Linked DNA regions of Homo sapiens: region 2 is linked to region 1. The links are contacts of gene promoters, found by promoter capture Hi-C in blood cells and fetal thymus (Javierre and others, 2016). All regions are on one chromosome and are shown on one strand. The core of a region is centred on a gene start or on the middle of the fragment in contact, and the rest is flanking DNA. Distances in the headings are between cores, read along the strand shown. Region 1 holds the start of GPX2 (glutathione peroxidase 2). Region 2 overlaps SPTB (spectrin beta, erythrocytic).

What was found. The method cuts DNA at HindIII sites, captures the fragments that hold promoters and counts their contacts. A CHiCAGO score of 5 or more calls a contact.
Region 2: a contact is called between a fragment that was not itself captured here and the fragment with the promoter of GPX2 in region 1, in 1 of 17 cell types (megakaryocytes). The highest score is 8.4, in megakaryocytes.

What each region holds. Positions count from the first base shown.
Region 1 is chr14:64,939,820-64,945,963 of GRCh38, reverse strand. It overlaps GPX2 (glutathione peroxidase 2), which reads left to right and starts at 3,219. Exons shown (of 2, transcript NM_002083.4): 1 at 3,219-3,459; 2 at 6,126-6,144. The coding sequence starts at 3,238. All of the region lies in intron 3 of CHURC1-FNTB (CHURC1-FNTB readthrough), which reads right to left. It overlaps RAB15 (RAB15, member RAS oncogene family), which reads left to right. Exons shown (of 7, transcript NM_001308154.2): 7 at 1-148. The HindIII fragment of the contact is 4,140 bases long and covers 1,324-5,463 here.
Region 2 is chr14:64,800,954-64,803,578 of GRCh38, reverse strand. SPTB (spectrin beta, erythrocytic) reads left to right here. Exons shown (of 36, transcript NM_001355436.2): 5 at 1,262-1,353; 6 at 1,745-1,825; 7 at 2,179-2,294. Among named protein-coding and RNA genes, the nearest start is that of MIR7855, 17 kb to the right of the region's middle. The HindIII fragment of the contact is 4,238 bases long and covers 1-2,625 here.

The DNA of each region.
Region 1 (6,144 bases), core at 1,970-4,469:
CCAGGCACGCCACCTGCTCCTGAGCCTCCACTATCTCCCTGTGACGGGTGAACTTCGTGTACTGTGTCTCGGGTCCATATATGAATTGTGAGCAGGGTTCATCTATTTTAAACACAGATGTTTACAAAATAAAGATTATTTCAAACCACCGGTGTGGCTGCCTGGATGAGTCCTTGGGGGTAGGTCTCACTCAGACCCTGGCAGTGATGTGGGAGGGAGAGAGGCAGTGCTGGTAGAAGCAGCTCCAGAAGCAAAGGCAACAGCAGTAGAGTGACCACGGAAGCGGCAAACATTGTCTTCCCTTCTCTACCTTCCCTAGTGCCACCTGCAGGGAGGCCCAAAGCAAAGCCCCGTTGCCCTGCATTGGGCTGGCACTGCAGAAATAAGATGAAACACAGTTATCGAGAGGATGCTGAACATCTATGAGCAGGTTTTAAAGCCAAGATGAGTCTCATCTGTTTGTGTGGGTCAGGAACGGGTCTTCCTGAAGGCATGAGGTGGGACTGGATAATCTTTCAGATTTGTGATTGGATACCTCGGGGGAGCAGAGGCAGACTGGGATCTCAGGACTGCAGGTATTTCATACTTTGGGATATGGAATTGATGGAGGTGGAGAATATTGGGGATAAGGACTGAATGAAGAAAGGAGTAGGACAACGCAGGACAACAGTAGTCTTAAGATTTTCACTACACTTTACCCGGCACTAGTGATAGATAAACTCTTCTGACCCTAACCATCACCGTGTGAGATGGGGAGGGTGGTTATCTACCCAGGTCCCACAGGCAAGGAAACAGATGATCAGAGAACTTAAAGATTTGGCCGGGTGCAGTGGCTCATGCCTGTAATCCCAACTCTGGGAGGCCGAGGCAGGAGGACTGCTTGAGCCCAAGAGTTTGGGACCAGCCTGGGCAACATAGTGAGACACTGTCTCTAGAAAAAATTAGCTGAGTGTGGTGGCTTGTGAGGCTGAGGCCAGTGGATCACTTGAGCCCAGAAGGTCAAGGCTGCAGTTGCACCATTGCACTCCTGCCTGGGTGACAGAGAAAGACCCTGTCTCAATAAAAAGAGCTTAAAGATTTGCCTAAGGGTCCGAAGTAACAGTGGCAGAATTGTGGTTGTAAACCACTGAATTGGAATCACTGGAGGGCAAAGCTTTGGCATCTCTAGAAAAATTCCTACAAACAATTCTCATTTGCAGTCAGAATTAAGAACCACCAACCCAGGCTTTCTGCCTAAGCCAGTGCTGTGTCCAGAGCAAGCACTGTCCCACAGAAAGCCATAAGAATCATACGCTGCTTAGTGTATGCTTAAAGTTGTAAGCTTTTGGAAAGCGAGGCCAGTTTGAGGTAAATTTGGAGACAGAGATATTTTAGGAGAGCCTCACCAAGTATATTCCATTAGGAAAGGTGAGAACCCTGGGAGTCTGAAGGGTCCAAGGTCACACCAGGAGAAAAGGGATGGCATGTACCTAAGGAAGAGGGAACCCCCACACTCCTCATCTTGGGAACTCCCATGGCCTTCTTGAAGAAGGCTTGCAAAAGAGCAGAGAATAAGAGGTGTCTCTGGAGGCCCAGAGAGTACTAGGGGGAAGCTCTAGGTATGCACATAAATCCGGCAAGTTACAGTTCTGCCCACTATCAGTGCCAAGTCCTTGTGACTCAGTGGCTTGGTGGGGACTCTTTCTTATTGGTTGCTTCTAGGAACTCCACCCAGCTTCAGCAGGGGACACACTTCCCTCTACACTTCCTGTCACTCCTTCTGTCCACTTAGGTAATGGAAACTTGTTTTTAGGGAGCAGCCAGCTGAGACACATGGTCCCTGTATACTTGAACAGCCATGGAAAAGCTGCAAGGCAGCTTGGCGCTCCCTGGTGATAATTACTTCATCTCATCTCAACAAATCAGATTCTCAAGACCAGCTGCTCCCCGGACTTGCTTATTCTTTGTTCCAAGGAGACAGTTCCCAATGGATGTGCCCCTGTGAAAACACCCTAGTAAACATTTGCTTTGTTATTGAAATTTCACTCTAAAATCCCAAAGCTAGGTCAAGCCCCATTGCTAGTTTTACTGATGAAGAAATCAAGGCATTTTTAAAAGAGTAACTTGTTGAGTTGGCGGGTGCTTGGGTCTTTTCGGTTTCTGTGGCTTCCAGGGGTGGGCCTCTGAGATGGCCCTTAGCAGATGTCCTGCGATGCACTGCACGCCTCTTGTTGAAAGCATCAGGGGTGACCTGCCTGCGTCTGGAACCACAGCAGCTTCAACTTCCTCCACACACTTCCTTCTGTGGGAAGGTGACCAGCACAAACCCGCTCTGAAAAGTCTTGGGGACCAAATCTCTGTCTGAGAGGAAGGTAGGTGCAGTTCATCCACTAAGTTTATCCACCTGTTCTGTGACTCCTCTTCACCATTCTCCCAGCAACGACTGAGCCTCATGACTTGGGGGCTGGGGGATGAGGTGGAGGTGGGGGATATAATATAGGAGATGGTACAGTGCAGGGGCAGAGGCTGGTGTGTTCTCCAGGACAAGTGGCACCACGCACTGAAAGACTTTTCAAGATAAACACAACTTTGTCTCTTCAGCCTGGCAAGAGCTGAGGCACTGAAAACTTCTTTTTTCCCCTAGAAAATGACACACTCTCCTCCTAAGGGTCCCTTTGATTTTGTCCTGGTGGAAAGCAACAAAGAGAAGAACGTGAACAGGAATATGTATATTTCAGTTGTCATCTGAGTCCCATGGATAGGAGGCTCAATTCTCTTCTTCATCTTTCAGATCTCCGCAGACCCTGCCCTCTCACTGTACAATTCAGAGATTGACACTCAGCAGGCATTCAATAAACGTCTGTGTCAAATGAGAACAACTTGATGGGGCAAGTAGGAGTCAATCCTGCATCCCTCCCTCCCTTTTTTTCCTCTCCATTCGACCTTTAGGGCTCTGGTTTCCTGTAAGCAGTGAATTATTTACCTCTGCTCATAGATATCAAATTGGCCCTTCCCAGGTTGCAGCAGGGTGGGGCGGGGAGGCGGCCTTGTTCAGTCTGTTAATAGGAGGAGCAACCTCCTTGTTCAAACAGCACTTACAGGTGGGGACCTGTTTTTGCTAAGTCATCCTGGGGATGCTCAAAGCTCCATTGTTAGATCCTTTCTGTCCTCCTTCCTGGCTCCTCCTTCCTCCCCACCCCTCTAATAGGCTCATAAGTGGGCTCAGGCCTCTCTGCGGGGCTCACTCTGCGCTTCACCATGGCTTTCATTGCCAAGTCCTTCTATGACCTCAGTGCCATCAGCCTGGATGGGGAGAAGGTAGATTTCAATACGTTCCGGGGCAGGGCCGTGCTGATTGAGAATGTGGCTTCGCTCTGAGGCACAACCACCCGGGACTTCACCCAGCTCAACGAGCTGCAATGCCGCTTTCCCAGGCGCCTGGTGGTCCTTGGCTTCCCTTGCAACCAATTTGGACATCAGGTGAGGGGTCCCTCCTTGTAATGCACCAAAAGTGTTGGGTTGGTGTAGCTCAGGTGGGATAAAAGGAGAGGCTGAATGACCATGTTTTGGAGTGTCTGGAATAATGGGGTATGTTTTGTTAAGCTAGGTCTTTAGGTGCATGTGACATACCAAGAGAAGGTATATATTTTTTAAGATTAAACACTGAGGCTGTGTGATTTTTATAGTTTACTGTCTTTCTACTATATTACTCCATGAGGGCTGGTTCCAGGTCTGTGTTTCTCTCCACTGTGTCCTCAGTGCCTAGGGCACAGAAAGCACTCATTAAATATTTGTTGAATAAATGAGTGGAGAAAGTAGAGGCCAGGAATCAAACAAGAATTGGACAGACTCAAGAGACCTTAGCTCTAGCTGGACTTGGTTTTGCTATTTAATGGCTCTGTGCCCTCGGAAAGGGCGCTTCATTTTTCGGTTTAGTTTCCTCATCTGTAAATTGGGGATAATACCACTTAGCTCATAGGATTATTATGATGTTTAGGGGACAGGATATACAAAAGTAACTTGAAAAATATAAAGTACTATGCAAATGCAAGCAAACTGTTATTTAGATTGAGGATGATTTTTGTTGGTTTAAATTAGCCAAGTGGAAAGAAAATAAGCAGGAAAGAGAAAGGTTTTCAAAAGGCACGTGCCTCTGGGCATTACATGCACCTATTTCTGATTAATGGGTCAAGCTGTTATAGATCTTCAGCCCACACACCTCGAGTTCTCTTTTAGGGATTCTTCTATTTCCACCTATGATTTTAACGTACAAGCAGGGAGAATGAACCCAAGCGAACCCTCTCGTTATAATCCCCTTAGTTCAATTCACAGTGGTATGAAGGTGAGGAAGACAGGAAAGCAGGAAGGCTGAAGCATCACTGGCTGTGACAAACCTGAGCCCAAACTGTTCACTGCTCTCACTGTTCTTCCCTAAGTTTTCTGTCTGGCCTTTTCTAGAGCAGGAGAGACAGAAGTAGCAAACCCTCTTTCGAGATGTCCCTCCAGCCCCAGAAGTACCTCCAGCCTCACACCATCTCTTCAGCCTAGCAAGTTGCTGGAGGGAGTCTATAACCTACCAGGAGCCAGCCAGCCATTTGTATCAAGAAATAGAAATCTGCCAGGGTACAGTGGCTCACACCTATAATCCCAGCGCTTTGGGAGGCTAAGGTAGGCAGATTGCTTGAGCTCAGGAGTTCAAGATTAGCCTGAGCAACATGGTGAAACCTTGTTTCTACAAAAAATTGCAAAAATTAGCCAGGCATGGTGGCATGTGCCTGTAGTCACAGCTACTTGGGACGCTGAAGTAGCAGGATCGCCTGAGCCTGGGAAGTCGAGGCTGCAGTGAGCTATGATTGTGCCACCGCACCCCAGCCTAGGTGACAGAGTGAGGCCCTGTCTCAGGAAAAAAAACAGAAACAAAAACAGAGAAGTCCACTAGAGATCAGCTCTGGGCTCATGATGTCATGATGGCCTGGAACTGACTGAACTAGTTAGTTCTCACAGGTCAGAAGCAGGAACTTTCTCCCAGAGGAAGGTATCTGTCTGTTAAATTGGAAAGGTAGAGGTGGAAAAGAAGGGTTCCCATAGGCCTTTTGGATTGTCATGAATGGTGATGCTGAGAGGGAATAGGACAGGGATGGCAGTGGGGAGGGAAAGGCAGGGACCAGGTTTTGAGCCAAAGCATGCGTAGCTGAGAGCAGTGAGTGGATAGGAGGTGCAGCAGTCTTTGGGTAGCAGCCTACTCAAGAAAAGAATGATAATTACATACTCACAATCTTTAGCCATCAAGCACTTATTTCCTCAACTCCCCCTCCCCCTGGCCTATTGCCAAACCCTAAATCCTGTATCCTATTTACTTCATGCCTGTTGGTTACTAAGTAGTTCCATTTAGAGTACACATTCATTGTTGCCTTGAACTTGCTCTGCTGTTATGGCACCTGAAAACTAGATGTTCTTGGATGGGGGTCTTCCTTCATCAAAGCTTCTTCCCATTTGTACTTCAGTTCTAGGACAAGGCAAGAAGAAAGCAAGAAGCTGTAAATCCCATTCCTCTGGGTCTCAATTTCACCCTCAGTTCAAGGAGCTGAGTAGGCAGAGGCAAAGGCTATACTCAACACACGTGCAATTGAAAGCAGGCGAGGCAAAACCAGGGCAGAGGAAAGGAAAGGGGTGTGTGTGTAGGTATGGATTTATGGGTAGGTGGGTCGGTAGGTTAGTTGAAGAGGAGGTTCTAAGCAGTATAACCTAAGCCTCTTTTCTCTTTCTTCTGCTTCAAACACCTTAAGAACTGCTCAGGGTAGACTGGAGACAAAAGCAACAGCTCAGAAGTGCTAAATCTTGAAGAGCAGCCAAAGCATGGGCAACAAAGTGAGACCCCATCTCTACAAAAAAAAAAAAAAATTAGCCGGGCATGGTGGCCTGTGTCTGTAGTCTCAGCTACTAAAGAGGCTGAAGCAGGAGGAATGCTTGAGCCCAGAAGTTCAAGGCTGCAGTGAGCAACACCTCGTCTGTCTTGTCTCTCTCTCTTTCACAGTGAAAAAGAATGACCCTGGGGAGGGAGTGTAGGAGGGTGAAAGAGTTTCATGTTGTGGATCTTTCTCTTCCCCCACCCACTGTCCACGCACTTTGTCTTTTTCCTCCCCTAGGAGAACTGTCAGAATGAGG
Region 2 (2,625 bases), core at 1-2,500, 140 kb after region 1:
AGGGAGCCCTCAAGGCTGCCCAGGGCCTTAGAATCTTATAAAATGCTGAACAGAGTGTGGGTGTTAGTGCACATTCTGGGAAGGCTGTAAATCTGCCACATGGGACAGTGCTTGTAGGAAGGAGTAACCATCTTCTGTATCACCCCAAGTCACTGAAGCTCAGGGGGAGCTGCTCACTCAGTAGTATGGTCTTTTCAGGGAGAAGATAGAAATTAATTGGTAGCTGGGTTGATATCTGGCTGGAAGATTAGCTTTTTAGCCTCCTCCCCCTATACATGTAACTTCTTGGTTTTTGAAATAGATACAGAAAATTGCAAAAATTGTGTAGAAGATCTGTGTGTATATTTTCCAATCAGAAACTTTTCTCTTCTCACCCTGAAATTCAAAGTCCAGATTATTTGTAAGGAAATTTAGAAAGGGGAAGGGGAGGAAAACAGGGTCTTGCACCTGCTGGTTTGGGGACAGAAAGAACCTTGCCCAAGGAGGTGAGGGCAGGAGAAAGAAGAGAGCATACAACTCGCGGACTAAAGACCTCAACCAAGTGGCCCCGCATGTCCGATCTCACTCTCCATGGGTGCATAACATTGAACAACAATAGCAGCAGAGTTGGGGAGAATGGAAAGGCAAGAGGAGCTGCTAATGAAAGTATAGTACTCATCAGCATTCATGTTGTTCCACAGCCTCAAGGGGCATTGCACCTCCAGAGGAGGAATCAGGGCATCTTGTCACTGATTCTCTGCATTCTATTAGAGTTATCCAATTACAGCTGTCTCATCCCTGTGCCATTTTGGCTGACTGAGGCAGGGAAGCAGGCTGCTGGGGCACAGGGCCTCAGGATGTGGTGTTGCTGCGGGGCTGGCGGCTACTCCTTGAGGGCAAGAAATTTGTTTTACCTCTGTGTGTCCTCAGGCCTAGCACAGCGCTGCCACATAATAGGAACAGAATCAATGTTTGTACAGACAGCCACAATACAGCTATGGAGTACTGATGGTGCACCAGGCTCCAGGCCCTGGAGACAGACAAGTGACCAAGACAGATTTCCCTGGGCTCAGGGAGCATCTAGGAGAGAGAAGGAAATGTAAATGCAGGGAGCAGGGCACATGAAGGGAGACCCAACCCAAGCGCCATTTATACTGGCTCTTAAAGGATGAATTAGTGTTAAGTGAAGGGGGGATGAGGGAGGGAGCCTCCCAGGGACGGCAGGAAAGCACAGATCCAGATGCACATCCTCTTCAAATCTCTCTTGTTCTGCTACCCTCAGATTCAGGACATTGTGGTCCAAACTCAGGAAGGTCGTGAAACACGCTCAGCCAAGGATGCGTTGCTGTTGTGGTGTCAGATGAAGACGGCAGGGTATGCCCTGGGAACCAGCTGTTAGCACATCCACCACCAGCCCCTTGCTCCGCACAAGCACTGCCATCTCCAGAGGGACATTAGACATCATCACCCAGAACTACAGCTGCCTCCCTGTAATTGATGCAAAGTCTGTCCTGACCTGATTCTTTGAGGCCTGGAATACAGGATTCTTTTCCAAAGTTGCCTGCAGGCAGACTGGGGGGTCTGTGTGGTGTTCACATCTGATGGGGGAGCCTCTGTGTGTGGTTAGCTGCTGCCCCCTCTTGGTGACCTGGCTCAAGAAAGGACAGTTCCATTTCTCTCCTGGTATATTGGCCCTCAATTTGTACACTTGTTTGGGACTACAAAAAATCTAATTCTTAGCTCTTACTGTTTCTCTTGGATGCAGCTACCCTCATGTTAATGTCACCAACTTTACCTCCAGCTGGAAGGATGGCTTGGCCTTTAATGCCCTGATACACAAGCACCGGTAAGAGGGAGGGGACAGCCGTGGGGACTGACTGAGACAGCCTCCCTGGGAATATTTGGACACATTGCACTTAACATGGAGTCACAGAAATGTGACCTCTGCTGTTCCTTCTCCTCTCCCCTTCAGCAGCCCATAGCACCTTCACTTTCCTTAAATCCCAGCATGCCTGCCGCCCACTTCCCTCATATGCCAAGGCTCACACCTGCCCCCTCTCCTCTGCTCCCATCTCCTCCTTTCACTCCTCCTGCCTGACCACCTCCCTGCCTCTGTACAATGTCTGCTTCATGCTAGGGCTGCCCTCCTGGTGGGGATGCTGTGGCTACTCCCTTTTCACAGTCCAGTTTTGTCCCCAGGCCCGACCTGATCGACTTTGATAAGCTGAAGGACTCCAATGCCCGGCACAACCTGGAGCACGCATTCAATGTGGCTGAGCGCCAGCTGGGCATCATCCCGCTCCTCGACCCCGAAGGTGAGCCACACCCACCCCTGCCAGCCTTTGCTGCAGCAGTGGGGGATGCACTCGCTGTGCTAGAGGAGCTCAGCCGCCAGGACTTCTGGAGGCCGGCCCAGGTGCTGGGCAAGCTGTGGGCACAGTGAGGGGCAGTGGCCAGGCCAGGCTCTGATCTGGGCCTGCTTCTCTGCTCCATGCTGGTTCCCATGCCTGCCTGGTCTGTTTGGAGATGGACTTTGGATCCTTCTTCTTTTCTTCTTTTGTAATGTGTGGTTCTAAAATGGATTTCATCACACTCTTCCATTCTTGCTCTGTTGGTTGTCACTTGCTGCCTGTAGTTGAACTTGAT